Linked DNA regions of Homo sapiens: regions 1, 2, 3, 5, 6 and 7 are each linked to region 4. Evidence: promoter capture Hi-C in 16 types of primary human blood cells and fetal thymus (Javierre and others, 2016). All regions are on one chromosome and are shown on one strand. The core of a region is centred on a gene start or on the middle of the fragment in contact, and the rest is flanking DNA. Distances in the headings are between cores, read along the strand shown.

What was found. Contacts are between HindIII fragments. The CHiCAGO score rates a contact against its expected background, and 5 or more counts as called.
Region 1: a fragment that was not itself captured here is called in contact with the fragment with the promoter of RBM47 in region 4 in 2 of 17 cell types (neutrophils and monocytes); the score reaches 10.0 in neutrophils.
Region 2: a fragment that was not itself captured here is called in contact with the fragment with the promoter of RBM47 in region 4 in 1 of 17 cell types (neutrophils); the score reaches 10.1 in neutrophils.
Region 3: a fragment that was not itself captured here is called in contact with the fragment with the promoter of RBM47 in region 4 in 1 of 17 cell types (neutrophils); the score reaches 8.6 in neutrophils.
Region 5: a fragment that was not itself captured here is called in contact with the fragment with the promoter of RBM47 in region 4 in 3 of 17 cell types (neutrophils, monocytes and M0 macrophages); the score reaches 13.0 in neutrophils.
Region 6: a fragment that was not itself captured here is called in contact with the fragment with the promoter of RBM47 in region 4 in 1 of 17 cell types (neutrophils); the score reaches 8.4 in neutrophils.
Region 7: a contact is called between a fragment that was not itself captured here and the fragment with the promoter of RBM47 in region 4, in 1 of 17 cell types (neutrophils). The highest score is 5.2, in neutrophils.

Annotation. Positions count from the first base shown.
Region 1 is chr4:40,473,064-40,475,931 of GRCh38, forward strand. All of the region lies in intron 2 of RBM47 (RNA binding motif protein 47), which reads right to left. Among named protein-coding and RNA genes, the nearest start is that of MIR4802, 28 kb to the right of the region's middle. The HindIII fragment of the contact is 2,797 bases long and covers 1-2,672 here.
Region 2 is chr4:40,835,023-40,837,775 of GRCh38, forward strand. The region is part of intron 12 of APBB2 (amyloid beta precursor protein binding family B member 2); the gene reads right to left. Among named protein-coding and RNA genes, the nearest start is that of NSUN7, 86 kb to the left of the region's middle. RefSeq lists an enhancer at 750-1,319. The HindIII fragment of the contact is 8,515 bases long and covers 1-2,753 here.
Region 3 is chr4:40,803,791-40,806,490 of GRCh38, forward strand. All of the region lies in intron 10 of NSUN7 (NOP2/Sun RNA methyltransferase family member 7), which reads left to right. Among named protein-coding and RNA genes, the nearest start is that of NSUN7, 55 kb to the left of the region's middle. RefSeq lists an enhancer at 931-1,050. The HindIII fragment of the contact is 3,130 bases long and covers 1-2,700 here.
Region 4 is chr4:40,628,397-40,631,433 of GRCh38, forward strand. RBM47 (RNA binding motif protein 47) reads right to left here and starts at 1,468. Exons shown (of 7, transcript NM_001098634.2): 1 at 1,000-1,468. RefSeq lists enhancers at 325-1,201, 1,202-2,079, 1,262-1,331. The HindIII fragment of the contact is 8,976 bases long and covers 1-3,037 here.
Region 5 is chr4:40,488,928-40,491,627 of GRCh38, forward strand. All of the region lies in intron 2 of RBM47 (RNA binding motif protein 47), which reads right to left. Among named protein-coding and RNA genes, the nearest start is that of MIR4802, 12 kb to the right of the region's middle. The HindIII fragment of the contact is 2,255 bases long and covers 324-2,578 here.
Region 6 is chr4:40,851,664-40,854,535 of GRCh38, forward strand. All of the region lies in intron 12 of APBB2 (amyloid beta precursor protein binding family B member 2), which reads right to left. Among named protein-coding and RNA genes, the nearest start is that of NSUN7, 100 kb to the left of the region's middle. The HindIII fragment of the contact is 2,649 bases long and covers 151-2,799 here.
Region 7 is chr4:40,768,177-40,771,271 of GRCh38, forward strand. All of the region lies in intron 4 of NSUN7 (NOP2/Sun RNA methyltransferase family member 7), which reads left to right. Among named protein-coding and RNA genes, the nearest start is that of NSUN7, 20 kb to the left of the region's middle. The HindIII fragment of the contact is 3,396 bases long and covers 1-3,095 here.

The DNA.
Region 1 (2,868 bases), core at 24-2,523, 160 kb before region 4:
GATGGTATATGTGGTAGGCTAGGTGAACTCACAACCTAAGTAACATAATAATATTAATAATAGTAATGACCATCAACATTCATTGAATGTTTATCATGCACCAGGTATGGCACTAAGCATTCCACATACATCGTCTTATTTAATCATTGCTACAACCTCATGAAGCAAGATCTATGATGCTACTCATTCTGGAGATGCCAGAACTGAGGTATAATGAGGCTGCCCATTTGTTAAGGTCCCTTAGCTGGAAGTGAAGAAGCTGGGGTTCAAACCCCAGGCCTTCTATGGAAGAATCCAATTGCTGCTGCACTCCAATCTGGAAGAGTAGAAAACTGAAATCTGTGCTATAACAAAAATGACAAATGATTCTATATGCATTATATATTACAGCTTCAGAGTCAACATGAGGAGTTAAACCTGAATGGCAAATTCATGAATTGTTAAGGCCTACCAGGTAGGAATTTTTTCAAGAACCCCAATATTCAGCTTTAAACAGTAAATGATATTCTCAACCTAGGTTAGAAATATAGATAGGAGTTCAACTTTTTGGGTGACGAATAGAGAATATCAGATAGGCATAAATATCATGGGCTCAGAAATATCTGGTGTTCTGACTTGTTTCCTAGCTTCTTAAAAAACTATCACACTTTAGAAAGTTTTTGAGGACTCAGAGACCCCACAAAATGAGTAAACAAAACTGCAATTTCACTTTCTACTGCTTAGTTAATAATCTCTAATCAGACAGTTGTTTCCTGCTAACACCTAACAAAATTATCCACCTCTTTCAAATAGCAAAGAAAATGAACATACTAACATTCTTACAGTGGAAATATAATTTTACAAATAAACACAAATTACTGAATCTTTACATATGATTCACAGATGGTGGTGATGAGATTATCATGCCCCTCCCCACTCCGTCTTTGTGCACTGACATTTGACCCTTTTTATAATATGCACCTTGTACCAGTGAAACCTAAGGCACCAGTTAGTTACTCATTAAACTTGGGTGCTGAGGGCTGACTTGTACAAATTACGCTGTTAACTGCCCAGCCTGGCCTCTGTGCAGAAGTGGAAAAAAGCAATCATCATAGCTGTGAAATTCTGTCATATCGGCAGAATTGAACTACAAATTGCAGCAATTCGTACCTGACCTCTGATCTGTGAAGTTAGTCTAAACCTTTGAACCTTAGCTTGGAACCGAGAAGCAGCACTGACTTATACAGGACAAGGTGGCTAGCAAGCGTTCTCCATCGTGAATAGTTAACACTGTGACTGTTGGTCGCCCCCCACACCCACCTCCCCCACAGAGTCATCCAGAGTAAAAGACACAAATAACGATGATCTTGAGAATGGCAGACGTCTTACAAAAAGGCATTTGGAACAAATCTAATACAAGTATACAATTTCAGGATGCAAGTCTTTTTAAATGAATATGTCAAAATAAGAAAATGGAATCTGCAATAACTGAAATTCTTGGATATTTAATACTTTGTGATATGTACATTAAAAAATTTCCTTTACAAATTAGACCAAAGTAGAGTTCAAAATGAAATATTTAAATACATTTTTAATCAAATGGTGCCATCTCTCATTTGTCACATTTTAAAATAAACATATTACCTAATCTCTGTTATAAAATACAAACCCATATTAAGCCACCTTTGGCAAAAAGCAATCAGGGAAAACCAGTTACACTTTTCTTTGAACCCAAACTTATCTTTTGACACTAAATATCAGATGTAGGCTAATAAAAAGTATAAGAATATGCATTTCTCACATATACATTTTGTTGCAACATTGATTCATCATAATGAGAAGGGAGAAGGGTTAAGAGAGAAGAGTATTTTTCTTTAAAAGATTAGCTTCTACTTCAAATGCTATTCAAATTGCTCCACTGCCAGACAGAAATGACTAAAGATTCTACTTCTCTGGTCATTTGAGTTAATATTAAAACAAATTTTGAATAGCATATAAAATATAACTAAACAATTATTTATAATGAAAGTGAAACTAATGTTAATACTTTAAAGCATATAATCTACACCTAAATAATTCCATTTCATAAATTTAACTATTGGTTTGAAAACAATGATAAAAGTCTTCTTATACAAGAACTTTACTCTGAGAGGAAATGTCATCATTGTCAACCTTTATATGCTAATTATCATAAAGCTAATTCCATTAATTTTTCCTTATTTTAATTATCACATCTTAAAATTATAATTTCCTTCTCTAAACACTGACTCTGAAATGGCTTTAAAAATCAAATATGGGCAACACTGCTGATAAATTCCTGCTTCTTACCCCATAGTTTAAATAACAGGAAACTATAAAACAACAACAATACTGTGAAGATCTAGATTTTTCAAGCATATAAAGTGAAAAGCTGTTAGAAAAACTCATTTTTTAGAAAATGTTTTTAACTTAAGAATTTTGGTTTTACTGCTGGTAAGGCAGACTGTGCAGCAGTTGAAATTCTTACCAACTTCCAAATTTTTTTGGGGGGGTCTTCAATTAAAAAACAAACAATATGGATCATTTGTTTATCTGGTCTGATCTAAATTGCTTTAACCAAACACAGTTACCTCTTCTTCTCTTCATTTAAAACAAATAAGGTTTCCCCTACCTTTCCAATCTTGATCTGGGTGCGACAGGCTAACTGTAATGAAAGCTTTGCTTAAGCAACCTTCGCTCCCAATACCAGGAGCTGTGTAACTCTGTTATACATGGCACAGGGCTCCTCATTGGTCAACGAAATGAGCTTTGGCCACTTAATGCCTTGGGAGTCATTTGCTAAGGGCACCTGGAATGAGCTTGAGTGGGTGGTACAGAAAGAAGGGAGGTGTTAAAACTGCCACAAAGATA
Region 2 (2,753 bases), core at 47-2,546, 210 kb after region 4:
AATCCCAGCACTTTGGGAGGCCAAGGTGGCAGATCATGAGGTCAGGAGATCGAGACCATCCTGGCTAACACGTGAAACCCCGTCTCTACTAAAAATACAAAAACTTAGCCGGGCGTGGTGGCGGGCGCCTGTAGTCCCAGCTACTCAGGAGGCTGAGGCAGGAGAATCGCTTGAACCCGGGAGGTGGAGGTTGCAGTGAGCCGAGATCGCGCCACTGCACTCCAGCCTGGGTGAGAGAGCAAGATTCCGTCTAAAAAAAAAAAAAAAAAAATTCAATTCACTTCTACAAGCACCTTCTAGCTGATATTATGTATCAGGAACCAGTGAGGCAAATTCAAACAGATAAGGTTCCAGCCTTGCAAGCCCGTCTAATGTTACAGACGGGCAATGAGGTTTGAGCTGCTTCTTTAAGTGTAAGAAGGACCTCATCACAGTAAGAAGGCAGCAGACAGCTCAAAGAACATTGAAACAGGTATGAGCAAAGGCAGGGAGGTCAGAAGGCCCCCCAGTTGTTTGCGAGAACTCCCAGCTGCCCTATGCATATGCCCCAGGCACTGTGGTGAGGCTCAGGTGCCGCTGCAGGGGTGCTGTGCGGGAGTCTGTACTCAGTTTGCACAGTGCCTTGTGTCTTGCCAGGACTGGCCCTTACTCCGAGCCATCCCAGTCTTGCAATATTACAGGTGACCCCATGTGATTTGTTTGGTGGGAGAAAGCCGGCCAAGGGAAGGGGACTGCTGGGGGCCACTGCGGTGGTCCAGCGCAGGGGGATGAGCAAAGTGCAGGCTAAATCAGCATCTGCGAGAACAGGGCAGAGGAGACAGATGGAAGAGGTGTTGGAAGGATAGCTGGCAGGAGTGGCAGATGTGTGAGAGACGTGGATGAGGGAGGCGATTAAGAATAACTCTGGGGTCCCTGCTAGGACAGCTAAGCACCCCATCACTGGAGTGGGGGAGGGAAGGAGGGCTGGTTTGGTGCAAGAAGTTGATGAGCTCCAGGGTGGACAAGACGTGTGGGGTGCTTGTGCTTGAGGAGCACCAGGTGACGAGGCCCACCAAGCAGGTGGGTGCTGGGACCCTGCACTGAGGCCTGCGGTCTGGGCAGGAGACATGGATCTGGGAGGTGGGTGAAGTCGGGGGAGCAGGTGAGAGTGTGGAGCATGAAAAGACAAAGCTGGCCGGGCGCGGTGGCTCATGCCTGTAATCCCAGCATTTTGGGAGGCCAAGGCGGGTGGATCTCTTCAGGTCAGGAGTTCAAGACCAGCCTAGCCAACATGGCAAAACACCATCTCTACTAAAAATACAAAAATTAGGCGGGTGCGGTAGTGTGCACCTGTAATCCCAGCTACTTGGGAGGCTGAGGTGTGAGAATCACTTGAACTCAGGAGATGGAGGTTGCAGTAGGCTGAGATTCCACCACTGCACTCCTGCCTAGGCAAACACAGCAAGACTCCATCTCAAAAACAAACAAACAAACAAACAAACAAAAAACATGTCAAACCAAGGCCTGGCGACTGGGGAAGAAAGACATTTAGAGGCCTTGTTTGAGGCAGGAGGTCCAATGAGAAGGTGGGAAAAAAATTGCTGGGGAAGAGGGCAGGAGAAGCCCAGGAGAGGCTGGTCCCAAAGATATCAAAGAAAGGGGGTTGAGGGAAAGGGGTAGAGAGCTTTCCAGAACAGTGGGAGACAGGCCAGGTGGTCTCAGCCACAGGGAGGTCTGCAGTGACCTTGGCCTCCTGGACCCTTACCTGGGAGAAGGAGTTTGGGGCCCAGCCTGAGGAGTACAGGAGTTAAAAGAACAGAGTTCATCCATCTCTCTCCTTTCTGTTTTTTACTCTTCTCCTTCTGGAACTTTCCAAACACACATAAAAATTGAGAAGATAGTAAACAAACTCTATATCCCATCAGCTGGCTTCCACAGTGATCAAAATGTCACCCATTAGTTTTTTACACAGCTGGGTTTTTCCCCAATCCCAGTGTCATGATGCTAAAGGCCACTGTGGTCATACGTAAGAGCAACAGGGTAGGTCCTTGATTTTCTTGTATTCTGAGGGGGAGAAGAAATTGCTTTGTAGTAAACACACCTCCACACTCAGAGTGTTCCTGACAGACTGTGCAAACCTAAACTGGTGCGATCAGCTCAGGCCGAGCATGTGGGCTGGGGAGGAAAGAGTGTGTCGGGTGCCACATGGCCATCAGGCGTCAGGCAGCCAAGCAGGCAGGGCCCGTAGCCAGCTCTGTTGCTGCATGGGACACGGGGGCTGGCTGGTCCACTGCAGGCACCTTTGAGGAGCCTTCAGGTTGGGAGCCCTTGAGGGCTATCCTTCCGTTAGCACTTCCGGCTTCCAGAGCACCAGGAGGGTCCCATCTCAGACAGGCTGGGAGCCATACTCATTAACCGGGCGCCTCACACAGCCACGCAGGGTCCAGGCTTCAGCATCTCGTCTGTAAAACCACACAGCTGGCCCAAAAGATCTCCAAGGGCCAGAAAGAACATCACTCCCAGTTTTTCCAACAGCTTCTAGATTCCCAGGAACCTGTGGTTATCTGAAATTCTACCACCTGTGATCATCAGACACGATCTGTCTGACACTTGGCAGCAAGACCCGTTTCTGCTCTCTGCTCCAGCTCATGCCATACCCTAGCCATTTACAAGGCTAGGCCAGGAGCCATCTGCTGCCCATACATGGAGTCTCACTCCATTTAACGCCTGCAGTCATGAGAATCATTGCGTTTTCTTTTATAAGCCAGGAAGTG
Region 3 (2,700 bases), core at 146-2,645, 180 kb after region 4:
CTCCCAGCAACACTTGTGGAAAAGATTATTCTCCCCTATTGAATGGTCTTGGCACCCTTGTTGAAAATCAGTTAGTTAATCCCAGCCTGGGCAACATAGAGAGACCCCATCTCCACAAAAAATCAGCCAGGTGTGGTGGTGCCTACCTGTAGTCCTAGCTACTCAGGAGGTCAAGGCTGTAGTGAGCTGTGATTGGGAGACAGAGCAAAAGCCTGTCTAAAACAAAAAGAAAGAAAATAGAAAACCCACTAATCATAGATGCATGGGCTTATTTCTGGACTCTCATTCTATTCTCATTCTATCCGTTGATTTATATGTCTATACTTAAGCCAACAGCACAATAAGAGGTTTTCAAAATCACTAATGGGGCCGGGCATGGTGGCTCACGCCTGTAATCCCAGCACTTTGGGAGGCTGAGGTGGGCGGATCACCTAAGGTCAGGAGTTCGAGACCAGCCTGGCCAATGTGGCAAAACCCCGTCTCTACTAAAAATAAAAAAATTAGCCAGGCGTGGTGTCAGGCGCCTGTAATCCCAGCTACTTGGGAGGCTGAGGCAGGAGAATCGCTTGAACTAGGAGGCGGAGGTTGCAGTGAGCCGAGATCACGCCATTGCACTCCAGCCTGGGTGACAGAGCAAGACTCCATCTCAAAAAAAAAAAAAAATCACTAATGGATGCCTAGTTTTATGAAAAGCCTTTGCAGCATTTAATGATATGATCAGATATTATTTCTCATCTGACATTTTAACATGGTAGTGAATTACATTTAGTAATTACATTTTCCAATTTTCTATTAGAAAATTACATTTTCTAATAGTGAACAGTCTTTGAGCTTGAGGTCTAGGTTGTGTTCTGTGTTTTGATTTTCTGTTACCTAGTAAGAGTGGAGGGCACGAAGGTGAGCAGTGCATGAGAGGTCTTAGTGTGCACGCACCAGAGTACATGCTTCTCTGGTCTTAGTACTCATTATGGTCATCAGTATCTGCACATGCCTGGCTTCTGGTGGTTAATTTGCTCACCTGGTCTCTCTTGTTTCAGGATCCTATTATTTTCATTGCTGTCAATGAGCCCAGTTGTGTCACTGCATCCCCTACTGTCAGCCCTGGCCTGCAGAGGAAAACCACCACCAAACCTCTCAGTGCTGTGGTGCCCCTCTCACCAGGCCATTCCTTGCTGCTTGATAGTGGGTGTACTTTTGGGACCCTCCTCTCAACATAGCCTTCTGGTGGGTTTTCCAGCCTTAATAGTGTTATCCACGGCAGCGAGCTCACTTCTCTGTCCTCTTGTTCCTTCTTCTACTGCTTGCCATCTGCAGCCTGGCATTGCTTCCTCACCAAGTGTGAGCCATTGTGTGTTTGTTTTCTTTTTAAGAAATTACCTCAAACTTAGTGGCTAAAAACATCTATTACTTAGGTCACATAAGTCAGATATATCTGGCATGGCACAGCCAGGTTCTCTGCTCAGGATATGAGCTAGGCTGAAGTCTCTGGAGGCTCTGGGAACAGTTTACTTCCAAACCCACGCTTGTGTTTGCGGGACTGAGGTCCTCGTCTCCTTGCTGCTGTCACTTGACTGCTTTCCACTCCTAGAGGCCACTTTATTCCTTGTCCCGAGTTCCCCAATCTGTGCACCTGCAGTAGCTGTCATAGCATCTTGTGTTTTGAATCTCTGACTTCTTCCATGTCTGACCTCTAGACCCTGATTTCAAAGGTCATGTGATTAGGTCAGATCCACCCAGATAATATCCCTATCTTCGGGGTAACTAACGTGGGACCTATCCTACATCTGCAAAATCCCCTTTGTCATGTGTGTTAGTTTCCTGGGCTGCTGAAAGAAATTCCTCCAAACTTGGTGGCTTATGATAACAAACATTTATTCTCTCATAGTTCCGGAGGCTGGGAGTCCTAAACCAAGGCATTGGCAAGGTGCTGGCCGGTTGGATTCCTCCTGGGGCCTGTGCTGGAGAGGCCTGTCCCCTGCGCTCTCCCAGCTTGTGGTGGTTGCTGGCTGTCCTTGCTGTTCTTTGGCTTGTAGCTGTGTCACATGGACACTATTATTATTATTATTATTGAGATGGAGTCTTGCTCTGTCACCCAGGATGGAGTACAGTGGTGTGATCTCAGCTAATTGCAACCACCACCTCCTGGGTTCAAGTGATTCTCCTGCCTCAGACTCCCAAGCAGCTGAGATTAAAGGCACCTGCCACCACACCTGGCTAATTTTTGTTTTTTTGAGCCAGAATTTCACTTTTGTTGCCCAGGCCGGAGTGCAATGGTGCAATCTTGGCTTGAACCTCTCAGGTTCAAGCAATTCTCTTGCCTCAGCCTCCCGAGTAGCTGGGATTACAGGAGTCTGCCACCACACCCGGCTAATTTTTGCATTTTTAGCAGAGACGGGGTTTCACCATGTTGGCCAGGCTGGTCTCGAACTCCTGGCCTCAAGTGATTTGCCTGCCTCGGCCTCCCAAAGTGCTGGGATTACAGGCGTAAGCCACGGCACCTGGCCAGGACACAATGATTAATAAAAGATTTCCTGATAGTTTAACTCATGTGGAATAGTGTTTAATTGCTTTAACTTATTATTAAATATATTTTAATAATATAAGCCTGGAAATAGAATCATTTATTATTCATGATGAACCACTTACTAAGAAATGATAAATTCATATTAAACATAAAAACTGAAATTTTCATTTTAAATC
Region 4 (3,037 bases), core at 218-2,717:
CTTTGGTTTATCTAGAGGTTGTGTGTTACGCCGCTGACCACCTTTCACCTTTTAGAATCGGCACCTGCAATTCTCAAATGCTCTGGATCTAATTGCCAACCTTTTGAGCTCAAAACTTCGGCAACTCCTTCATGTTGGGTTGTCAACCCTTTGCTTTCCCTCCCCTGAGAAATTCGTATGACCTTGCCTTAAAACTTTTAAAGAATACATTTTAAAATCTATATTCCTGCTAAAGAAAACAGTGAGTCATTAAAATACCACCAGATAAAAAAAAAAGGTTTGATTTTTAGTTCAGGTCGGTAATGGCCTGTAAGTACCTTGAAGATGGTATCTTCCTATCACTTATGCCTTGGGACAGTACCCAAGAGTGGCTGAACTTTTACCTAATTAAAAAATGAGTCATTTATTTGAAAAATTCCACTTCCATTTATTTTATCTGATTTCTTAAATATCCGGTCAACTGCTAATTTGTCAGATGTCATAATTCGTCAGTCCTACCCTTTTCTACAGGCTGAATTTTTAATTTGAAACAACTACACCTCTACCGAGTGTTACTTTCAGACGTAAATTACTGCAGGAAGACCCCCCTCTGCCTTGGTTAACACTTAAATGAGATGCCTCCTGTCCAGGACGCTTCCTCAGTCTCACTGTAATAATCTGAGTCTAAAGTCACCTGTGCTTCTGGGCGGTCCAATCATGTATTTTCAAGAGTGAAAAAAAAAAATCAGTTTCTTTTATGGGAAAAGATTCATCACTACAGGAAACACGATGGGACTGACTGTATATGATTATCTGCCTTCCCAGAGGTTGACCCTTTTAAAACCGTTTTATAAACCCTTTATTTCCCACTAAATATACCAAGAGACAGAAGATGAGTGATAGCATGAGGGATAAGAGCTAAAGAGAGAAGAATAAGAAAAAAATATACACTTCAAAAATTGGGACCCAAATGTAAGATTAAGGGACAATAGTTAGAAGGACTACCAAAAACCACCTTACCTTTCCTTGTTAAGTTTTTGGAGCCGCCCACTTCAGAAATTAACACCATTCACAGCCCAGGAGCAACTTAACACAGCTAGGAAGTCACCTACAACATCTTCTCGTCCGCCTTCTTTTTAATGTAAAACCAAAATAAGGAGTGTCCAGCGACTCCCCACCGCGCCGCTTAAAGCAACAGAGCGTTTTAGGCTTAACTCCCAGGCTCTGGGAATTCCAGTGGGTCAGAATTGCTTAACCTTGGAGACTTGCAGAGAGAAAGTCTCCAGGAGGACCGCTCCCCAAACCCTGGTTTCTCTCTATCCCAAGCTGCACATTCCACAGTGGAAAGCGGGAGCGGCGACCCGAAGGCAGCGAAGTTCTCTCGGGCTCAGCTCCCGAGGCCGGGAGCGCGCGGCGGTTCCACCCGCAGAGCGGCGCCGCGTCCCGGCTGCGTGGGGCGCTGCGCACGGGAGCGCTCAGCGTCTAGTCTGCGGGCCCTTCCCGGTTCCCTCCCTCTCTCCTCCCGCCGCCCGCCCCCTGCCGAGGCCATCCGCCTCACAGTAGCAAGGTTGTCTCTCGTCTACTCCCTTCCCTTAAACTCACCAAACCAGATTTTTACTCCCAACACCGGCAACTTCCCGTAAATCTGCCCTGAAATTTTATCCTGCTGGCTGAGCCTCCCCTGGCTAAAGGCCAGTGCCACATTCCTGTTGTTTTTTAGGAGCGCAGATACCTTTGCTGAAGGTTCAAAGAAAATCGGCCTTGATGGCAGAGATTGGGGGACTTGACCAGACGGACTTCTCTCCCCGCCCCAAAAGTCACATGCCTTTCAGACACCCAGAAGTGGCACCTGCTCCACCTGGGGGCATCTGTCCGAGTCAGACGCTCGGCCCCCTTCGGGCTGCTCCGAGAAACCCAGCCAGAACCACGTTGGAGAAATTAGGAACCTGCTGCTGAATTTCAAGCCGATCGGAACCGCCCCGCTCCCCTTCTTCCCCCCATAAACAAGTCGCTGGACGAGGTGGGATCTCTGCGACCCCCGCGTGCCCGGGGAGAGCTCCCGGGGCGAGCTCCCGGGGCGTCCTTACCTGGGGCCGAGCATGGCTTGGCCGCGCGCAGGCAGGAGCGTCACGCGGACGGGGCCCTGACCTTTGCCGGGGCCTTCGCAGCAGGGCCTGGGGCCTGGGCGCTGCTCGTTCAGAAGTGGCTCATTTTAGTGCGCTCTGACCTAGAGTTACGGAGGGTTTCTAGAAAGGGAACAAAAAAACACTGCATTTAGAAACAGCAGCCAAGCCCTCGCTTCACCTTGCCTGCTCTCTGGGGAGTTGGCTCGAACCCCCACCCCATCCCAATTCCCAAGAAACCCAGATGTCCGCAATCCGCGCCCCACCCCCTCCGCCTTACCTGTTTATACAAGAGTTAAGGAGCCTCCCGCATTTCAGTGGAGCGCTAAGCCTGTTTGTAGGCGCGGAATGGGCCAACAGGAATCGAATTCTGTGACTAAACAAACTAGAAGAGGAAGCAGGCACCACCAGGAACCTAAAACAGAGTTGTGATTTCGGGTTGCAGTGTCATTCAGCTGAGGGGAAAGAAAAAAATACCGGGCTACTTTAGTGAAAGAATGTTCCAAAAATGGTTCTTTGCTGGTTGAGTTAACACATGCAAAGAGCTTAGAACGGTGCCTAGCACACAGTGTTAGCTGCCGTTATTGTTGTTGTTATTCTTCTTATTATTATTTACATTATGGCTTTTTTCTGAAGAAGAGTGTGTGGTCAGAGTTAGACATGGGCTGTAGCACCAGCATTGCCACTCACCAGCTGTGAGGCCATGAGCAAGATATTTAATCTCTCCCAGCCTCAGTTTCTGGAAGATTCTAACGATGGGATTTTTACAAACAGTTTATATTCATTGCTGACAGTCTTGAATACAATGGGAAATAAAGTCCCTGTAAAGGGTAGCCAACTGAATTTCATCTCACTTAAAAGTTACAAGATTGACAACAGAAATGGAGATAAATTTGCCTGCATTCCATGAAGCTCACTAACGGGAAGGAAATTCA
Region 5 (2,700 bases), core at 201-2,700, 140 kb before region 4:
CTTACAAAGATTAAATAAGTGTTCAAAGTCTCACAACTATTAGGTGGCAGATGTAGAACTCATATCCAGGTTCCCAAACCCCAGAGCCCAAGTTTTTGCCCCAGAATCACAATGCTATATGGACTGCACCATAATGAAACAGCTGTGTCAACTGTACTCTGTATGCCCCCCTCATGTATTCAGTTGCCCTGTAACTCTGTCCCCAAAGGAGAAAGTTTGCATGCCCTGACTGTTTCAGCATTGGTCACTCATACTCACAAACTGTCCTGTAAAATGGAGCTTGGGGGAATGGAGATAACAGTTAAAATACAGTAAACAATCTAAGCTTTCAGTTTAAGAAGCCAGAAAAAAGAAGGGCAAAATAAATCTGAAACAGATTAAGGAAGGAAATAATAATGATTTAGGTGGGAATAAAGCAAATACGGACTATAAAAACAAAATAAAAGTTAATAAAACCAAAAGTTGGTTCTTTGAAAAGAGCAACAACATTGACAAACCACTAGCTAGAATGACAAAGAAATGAAAAGACTCAACTTACTAAACTCAGGGATAAGAGAAGTGACAACACTACTGACCTTCTAGAAATAAAAAGGATAGCAAAGAAATACTATGAACAATTATATGCCAGCAAATTAGATAACCTACATGTAGAGGAGAAATTCCTAGAAAGATGCAAAGGGCCAAAATAGACTCAAGAAGAAATAGAATATCTGAATAGACTTATAAGTAAATACACTGAATTTGTAACATAAAAATTTTCCACAAAGAAAAGCCCAAGAACAGATGACTTCTCTGGAGGATTCTATCAAATGTTTTAAAGTCTAATTACCACCAATCCTTCACAAATTCTTCCAAAAAACAGAAGGGACTAGAACACTTCCCACTGAGGCCAGTATTACATGCATAGAAAATACAGACAAAGTTATCAGAAAATGACAAATCAATATGTCTTATGCATATGGACTTTTTAAAAATACACAACTAAATACTAATAAACTGAATTCAGCAACATGACCAAGTCTGATTTAACCCAGAAATGCAAGATAGCTTAACAGATGAAAATCAATCAGTGCAATACACCATATCAACAAAAGACAAAAACTATACACAGTAATCTGAATAGCTGCCAGAAAAGCATTTGATACAATGCACCAACCCTTCATAACTAAAACACAACATATTAAAGCAGAAGGGAACTTCTTCAATCTGATAAATAACATCTACAAAAAACCCATGACTAATACACTTAATGTGAAAAAGACTGAATGCTCTCCCCATGAAGAACAGCAACAAGGATTTGCACTCTCTCAACTTCTATATGCAACATTGTACTTGTTTCTAGCCAGGATAAATAGAAAAAAAGGAAAAAGAAAAAAAAAGAAAGAAAGGGGATCCATATGGGAAAGGAAGAAATAAAACTCTGTTCATAGATGACGTAGTCAATTACATGTAAAAAACCTAAGGAATCCATTAAAAAATTATTAGAACTAATAATCAAGTTCAACAAGGTTGCAGGACATAAAAGCAATATAGAAAAATCAATTATAAATTTCTATCTACTAGCAATGAACAAACTAAAATATAAAATTAACAAAGCAATTTCATCTACAATAGCATCAAAAATAATACAAGTGTTAAAACTACAAAACATTGTTCAAAGAAATCAAAGATCTAGGCCATCTATTAAAAATACAAAAATTAGCCGGGCGTGGTGGCGCCTGGCCGAGACATAAGAATCACTTGAACCCGGGAGGCGGAGGTTGCAGTGAGGAGAGATCGCGCCACTGCACTCCAGCCTGACAAGTGAGACTCTGTCTCAAAAAAAAAAGAGAGAAAAAAAATCTAAATAAATGGAAAGACACTGCTTGTTCATGAATAGAAGACTGAACGCTGCTAAAATGACAATACTCCTCGATCTGATCTACAGAGTCAACACAATATTCCCATCAAAATCTCAGCTAGTTTCTGGGAAAAAAAATTGATAAATGGATACTAAAATTCCTACAGAAATTCAAGGGGCCCAGAATAGCCAAAACAAACTTGAAAAAGAAGAACAAAGCTCAAGGACTCACCCTTCCAGGTTTCAAAATTTACTACAAAGCTACAGTAAACGAGACAGTGTATAGGGTGCAGAAATCTTAGGGGAAAACCATAAGGTGCGGGGAGGGTGGGCAGCGTGGTACTGGCATAAGGATGGCCATAGGACAATAGATTCGAAATGAGAGTTCAGGGAAAAAACCCAAAACATGTATCTGTGGTCAATCGATTCCGGACAAGGGTGCCAAGACTATTTGATGGGAATAGTCTTTTGAAGAAATTATGCTTTAATAACTGGATACGCACAATGCAAAAGAATAGAGTTGGACCCCTAATTCATATCATATACAAAAATTAAATCATTATAGATCAACCACCTCATAAGAGCTAAAACTGTAAAACTCTTGGAAGAAAACATGGGTATAAATCTTCATGACCTTAGCTCAGGTAGGCAGCAGCCTTTTAGATATGATACCTTTCAAATATGATAAACACAGCAATAAAAGAAAAAATAATGAAATTGTCCTTTGTCAAAATGGGAAGCTTTATTTCTCAAAGGACACCATTAAGAAAGGAAAGACAACTTACAAAATGAGAGAAAATATTTGCAGATGTATATTTGATAATAGCCTTGTATCTAGAATATATAAAGAACTCCTACAA
Region 6 (2,872 bases), core at 225-2,724, 220 kb after region 4:
CTGCCCTTTCCCATCTGCTGAAAATACTGACTGCAGAAGGAATATTTTCTATGCATATATATATATATATATATATTTTTTTTTTTTTTTTTTTTCAAAACCAAACCAAAGTTATCTCAAAACTCAAGTTCTCTGACAAACATGTTGTTAAGCTTTCAAGTTCACAATTCTGCAGCTGGAAGAAGGGGGCAGAGAATCCTATCAGAAACTCAGTATTTAGTTCTACTTTACAGCTATAAGGAAATGGCTTCTCTAGCTCTCAAAATGCTCAGTGAATTTCCTGCAAAGTTACTAAGAAAGTTACCCTCTTTGAATTGAAATACATATGGAACAAATTTTATATTTATGAGAGAGTATCAATTGTTGGAACTACAGAGGATGCTGCATGTGAAGTAACTTCAAATGTAATTACGGGGCCGGGCGCAGTGGCTCATGCCTGTAATCCCAGCACTAAGGCCGGTGGATCACTTGAGGTCGGGAGCTCAAAACCAGCCTGGCGAACATAGTGAAACCCCGTCTCTACTAAAAATACAAAAAATTAGTGGGGCATGGTGGTGCATGCCTGTAATCCCATCTATTTGGGAGGCTGAGGCAGGAGAATCGCTTGAACCCGGGAGGCGAAGGCTGCAGGGGGCCGAGATCGTGACACTGCACTCCAGCCTGGGTGACAGAGCAAAACTCTGTCTTCAAAAAAAAAAAAAAAAAAAAGTAATTATGAATGGATTCTTATAAACTGGGAACAAAGGTAGAATAATTCCATATAAATTAAGGCTTAAACCCATCTTCTCTTCTTAGTCTGATTCTTTATTTTCATGCCAGAACAAAGAAAAATGCTCAAAGGTCTCATAACCAGTTGAGAATGACAGAAAGGGTACTGAAGGGTGAAAACATCTTGGAAAAATGGCCAAATACACAAGATTGCACTGGATGGATACGTCTGCTCATCTACACTGGAGAACCAAAGAAAAGAAAGTCAAAGTCTTTTTTTTTTTTCTGAGACAGTGTGTTTCTCTGTCACCCAGGCTGGAGGGCAGTGGCGCGATCTCAGCTCACTGCAACCTCCATCTCCCAGGTTCAAGAGATTCTCGTGCCTCAGCCTCCCTAGTAGCTGGAATTACAGGCATGTGCCACCATGCCCAGGTAATTTTTGTATTTTCAGCAGAGACAAGGTTTTGCCACGTTGCCCAGGCTGGTCTTAAACTCCTAGCCTCAAGTGATCCTTTGGGGACACTCGGCCTCCCAAAGTGCTGGGATTACAGCATGAGCCACCGTGTCTGGCTTAAATCAAGGTCTTGATACAACATAAATGTAAAGGGAGTTGTTCCATGGCTTAATAACTTTGTCCTCGAACAGTTATTACTTCTATTAGCATGTATTTTCTACAGACATAAACAACGCATCAAAGAAATCAGGTATGGTCCTAGATCACACCCCTTCCTGCATCTTCTACAGTCAACTTGGCGAGTTCAACCTCCACATTTCCCCCACCCACCTGCTTCTCTTCATGCCCTCTGCCATGTCACTGATCTCTCCTGGACTAGGGCTAGCCAACTGGTCCCTCGTTTTCCACTCCTGTTCCCAATATCTATTCCCTGAGATCTTTCTGTATGAAATAAACTAGATCATGGCATTCCCCTGGTTAACCCTCTTCACGGGCACCTCATGGCAAACCTTTAAGCACTGCCCACAAGCCCTAAAGGATCCTGTCCCCACCCACCTCTTCCAGCACAAACCACTGGCCTCCTCTTCATCCTCAGGCACGTTGAGTGCTCCACTTCCTCAGTGCTTTCCTTCTTTTTTTTTTTGCGATGGAGTTTCGCTCGTTGTCCAGGCTGGAGTGCAATGGCATGATCTCGGCTCACTGCAACCTCCGCCTCCTGGGTTCAAGTGATTCTCCTGCCTCAGCCTCACGAGCAGCTGGGATTACAGGCACGCACCACCATGTCTGGCTAATTTTTTTTTTTTGTATTTTTAGTAGAGACAGGGTTTCACCATGTTGGTCAGGCTGGTTTTGAACTCCTAACCTCAGGTGATCCACCTGCCTCGACCTCCCAAAGTGCTGGGATTACAGATATGAGCCACCACACCCAGCTGTTCCTCAGTGCTTTCTATTCACTCCCTACATGGCTGGCTTCTTCTCAGCCTTCAAGCCCAGCTCAAATGTTGCCTCCTAGGACAGGCTGCCTCCTGATGGCCCCTTTCCCCTCTGAGCTACTCTGTTGCATCACGCTGTTGATGGTCTTCAAGACACTCGGCATAACCTGTATCATCTTGCTTCCTGAATTGTTTTTCCGGCTTATCTCCTGCCTCTTCAAACAGGGACCTCATCTGTCTCAGTCCTTCATGCTGCCTCACAAGGTGCCTGACACATGGATGCTCCTTATCTGCCGAACAGCATATTAACCATTAGACTATAAATATTAAGCACATGGATGGTCAAAATTAAACCCTAAAAGTAGACAATGAAGTATTTTCATCTACATTCATTCATCTGCCCATTCATCAACTGGGTTATTTATGGAGGGCATCCTATACTAGGTACTATGTTAGGGCCCGAGGAATCCAAAAGTCTAAGAACTCCTCAAATATGTCATATTCTGTGTTCAACACAAGCTCTTTAAAAAGACAAGTTACACTACTACTTAGTATGTTTTTCTGTGATCCTAGAGATTTGTGAAAACCTAGATAAGAGGTTATATGCCATCAGTTTACTCCCAAAAACCCATGAAACGTATATGGAGAGTAAATAGGGACACAGTTAAGTCATCTCTTAACACTCGGGAGCCTGGACAGATGTAAAGCTTTGCTCAGCCAGTGGTACAGAATGAAATTCATTTCCTAGGCCTGGCGCGGTGGCTCACGCCTGTAATCC
Region 7 (3,095 bases), core at 174-2,673, 140 kb after region 4:
GAGGATAAAGACTAATTCTTTTTTTTTCTTTTTTTTTTTTTTTGAGACGGACTCTTGCTCTGTCGCCCATGCTGGAGTGCAATGGCACAATCTCGGCTCACTGCAACCTCCACCTCCTGAGCTCAAGCAGTTCTCCTGCCTCAGCCTCCCAAGTAGCTGGGATTACAGGTGTGCGCCATTATGCCTGTGTTTTTGTAGAGATGGGGTTTCAGCATGTTGGCCAGGCTGGTCTCAAACTCCTGACCGCAGGTGATCCTCCCGCCTCGGCCTCCTAGAATGCTGGGATTACAAGTGTGAGCTGCCGTGCTCGGCCAGATAAAGACTAACTCTAAGAGGTTATAGAAGAAGAAGTAATTAGCAAGAAGCTGAATGAGAATGATTTCCTCCTTGTAAAAGTGGTTTGACCTTTGTTGTTGTTCCTCCTGGGAATCCTTGTGTTTTTTCACTCTTATACCCCTAAGCACCAACATGTATCTTTTTCTTCACTTATTCGTGGGTTTAGACATGTAATCCAAGATGATACCTATTATCATTTTTTTTACATATGAAAGGTCTTTAAGAACCCATTCTTTGTATAAAATGTAACTGTCTTTTTAATACTGTGTGACCAGGTTAAAAAAAGAGAGACCACAACCCCTTGTTTCTCACTCCCCATGCCTTTCCACCAGCCCAATAATCTATTTCTATTAAATTATTTGTTGGACTGTTGTGAGGCAGCAATTGGAAAATAAGCAGTGAAAAAGTAGAGAAAGGAGGGGAAAGACTTAGTCAGTTCTTCTTCCAAACCACCCCAAAACCATTTATTCTGATGTCTTCCACTTCACAGCTAAGGCATCACCATCTACCTAGACATCATCCTTGATTCTTCTTTCCTCCCCTCCCCTGCACTCAATCTGTGTCTAATGCATCAAGTCCTGTAACTCCAATTCAAAAACATACACTGAGCCTGTGTGCTTCTTTCCATTTCCACTACTACCATCCAAATCTATGCCACCATAATCTATCACTTGGACTACCATGATAGCTTCCTTAGATACATTTCCCTGGCCTATAACTCTCACTTTCCTGCAATCTATTCCACATGGCAGGTAGAGTGATATTTTCAAAATGTAATTGTATGGTCATGATAGAATATCTTGGATCAGTCTTCCCCTTCTACTGTAAACAACTAGAAAACTGGCCAAAATATATCATAGGACGTAAAGGTTTTGGACATTAGACAAGAAGCAGCACAGAAACCTGATCCCTGAAAGAACAAAACAAATGAGGTGAGCCCTAGAATAGTCCTGGCTTTATGCCTGGAAGAATTCTCAAACTGCAATGCAGAAAGTAGAAAACAGCAGTCTTGCTGAGTTAAGAAAACAGAGAACAGTTTTAGAAGACTGAAGTGATTGTTTTTCTTCTTTATTGTATTAAGTGGCCAGGTGATTTACATTGACTGGTTTATGAATGTTAAACCAGCCATGCATTTTTGGGATAAGGCACATTTGCTCAGATATATTCTTTTTCTTATCTTCCCCAGTTTCTCTCATTCCCCATAATGCTCCAGAATTTCTAATTGCCAAAATGCCCTTTAAATACTTGTTCATGGGTTTTATCTCTCACATTCTCTCCGCTCCTTCTTCAGAAACTCTTCACCTGTTTCACTTACCTAGTAAAGAGTCTGAAGCAGATGACTGATTTTACATTTTTCTGGGAAATTCAAGCAGTTCATTGAAGATTATCTTTTGGCATTAAGAAAATGCAATCAAGGTCAGGCGTGGTGGCTCACGCCTGTAATCCCAGCACTTTGGGAGGCCGAGGCGGGTGGATCTCCTGAGGTCGGGAGTTCGAGACCAGCCTGGACCAACATGGAGAAGCCCCATCTCTACTAAAAATACAAAATTAGTCAGGCGTGGTGGTGCATGCCTGTAATCCTACCTACTTGGGAGGATGAGGCAGGAGAATCACTTGAACCCGGGAGGCGGAGGTTGCAGTGAGCCAAGATCATGCCACTGCACTGCAGCCTAGATAACAAGAGGGAAACTCCATCTCAAAAAAAAAAAAAAAAAAAGAAATTGCAATCAAGTGTCACTTAATGATGGGGATACATTCTGAGAAATGTGTCGTTAGGTGATTTCTTCTGATGGGAACATCGTAGAACATACTTACACAAATCTAGATGGTATAACCTACTGCACACCTATCCTATATGGTATAACCTAGTGCTCCTAGGCTACAAACCTGCACAGCATGTTATGTACTGAATACTGTAGGCAATTATAACACTATGGCAAGTATTTGTGTATCTAAACCTATTTAAATATAGCAAAGGTACTACCGTAGTAAACTTTTATGGGACCACCATCATAAACAGAGTTCATCATTGACCTAAATGTCATTATGCAGCAGATGACTTTATTCAATTTATATTTAAAGAGAACCACAGTTCTGATATGTTAGACATTAGTAATGCCATTCAAAAACTTGAGTCAAAAACTACATAAATATTTCTGAAAATTTAAAAAATGTAAATGTATATTACAAAAAGCCAAAAGAAGTAGTAAAAAGCCAAAAAAGAGTAATATCAATTTCATTTAAAAATAAACTGAGGTGGCTGGGCACGGTGGCTCACACCTGTAATCCCAGCACTTTGGGAGGCCAAGGTGGGCGGATCGTGAGGTCAAGAGATCGAGACCATCTTGGCCAACATAGTGAAACCCCATCTCTACTAAAAATACAAAAATTAGCCAGGTGTGGTGGTGTGCACCTGTAGTCCCAGCTACTTGGGAGGCTGAGGCAGGAGAATCTCTTGAACCCAGGAGGCGGAGGTTGCAGTAAGCCGAGATTGCACCACTGCACTCCAGCCTGGTGACAGAGCAAGACTCTGCCTCAAAAAATAAAAAATAATAAACTGAGGAAAAATGGCATATTAGTTAAGATGATTTTTTGCAACTGACAGATTCTGCAAAAGAGGGACTTTAAGATCATTTATGGAAGAATTGAACATGAGGCTACAGGAAGGGCGGTGATGTAGCGATGCTTCTGCTAAATAGAGCCTGTGACTCCAAAATCATCAGGACTCTAGTCTCTGCTTCTCTGTGCCTCCATTCTCT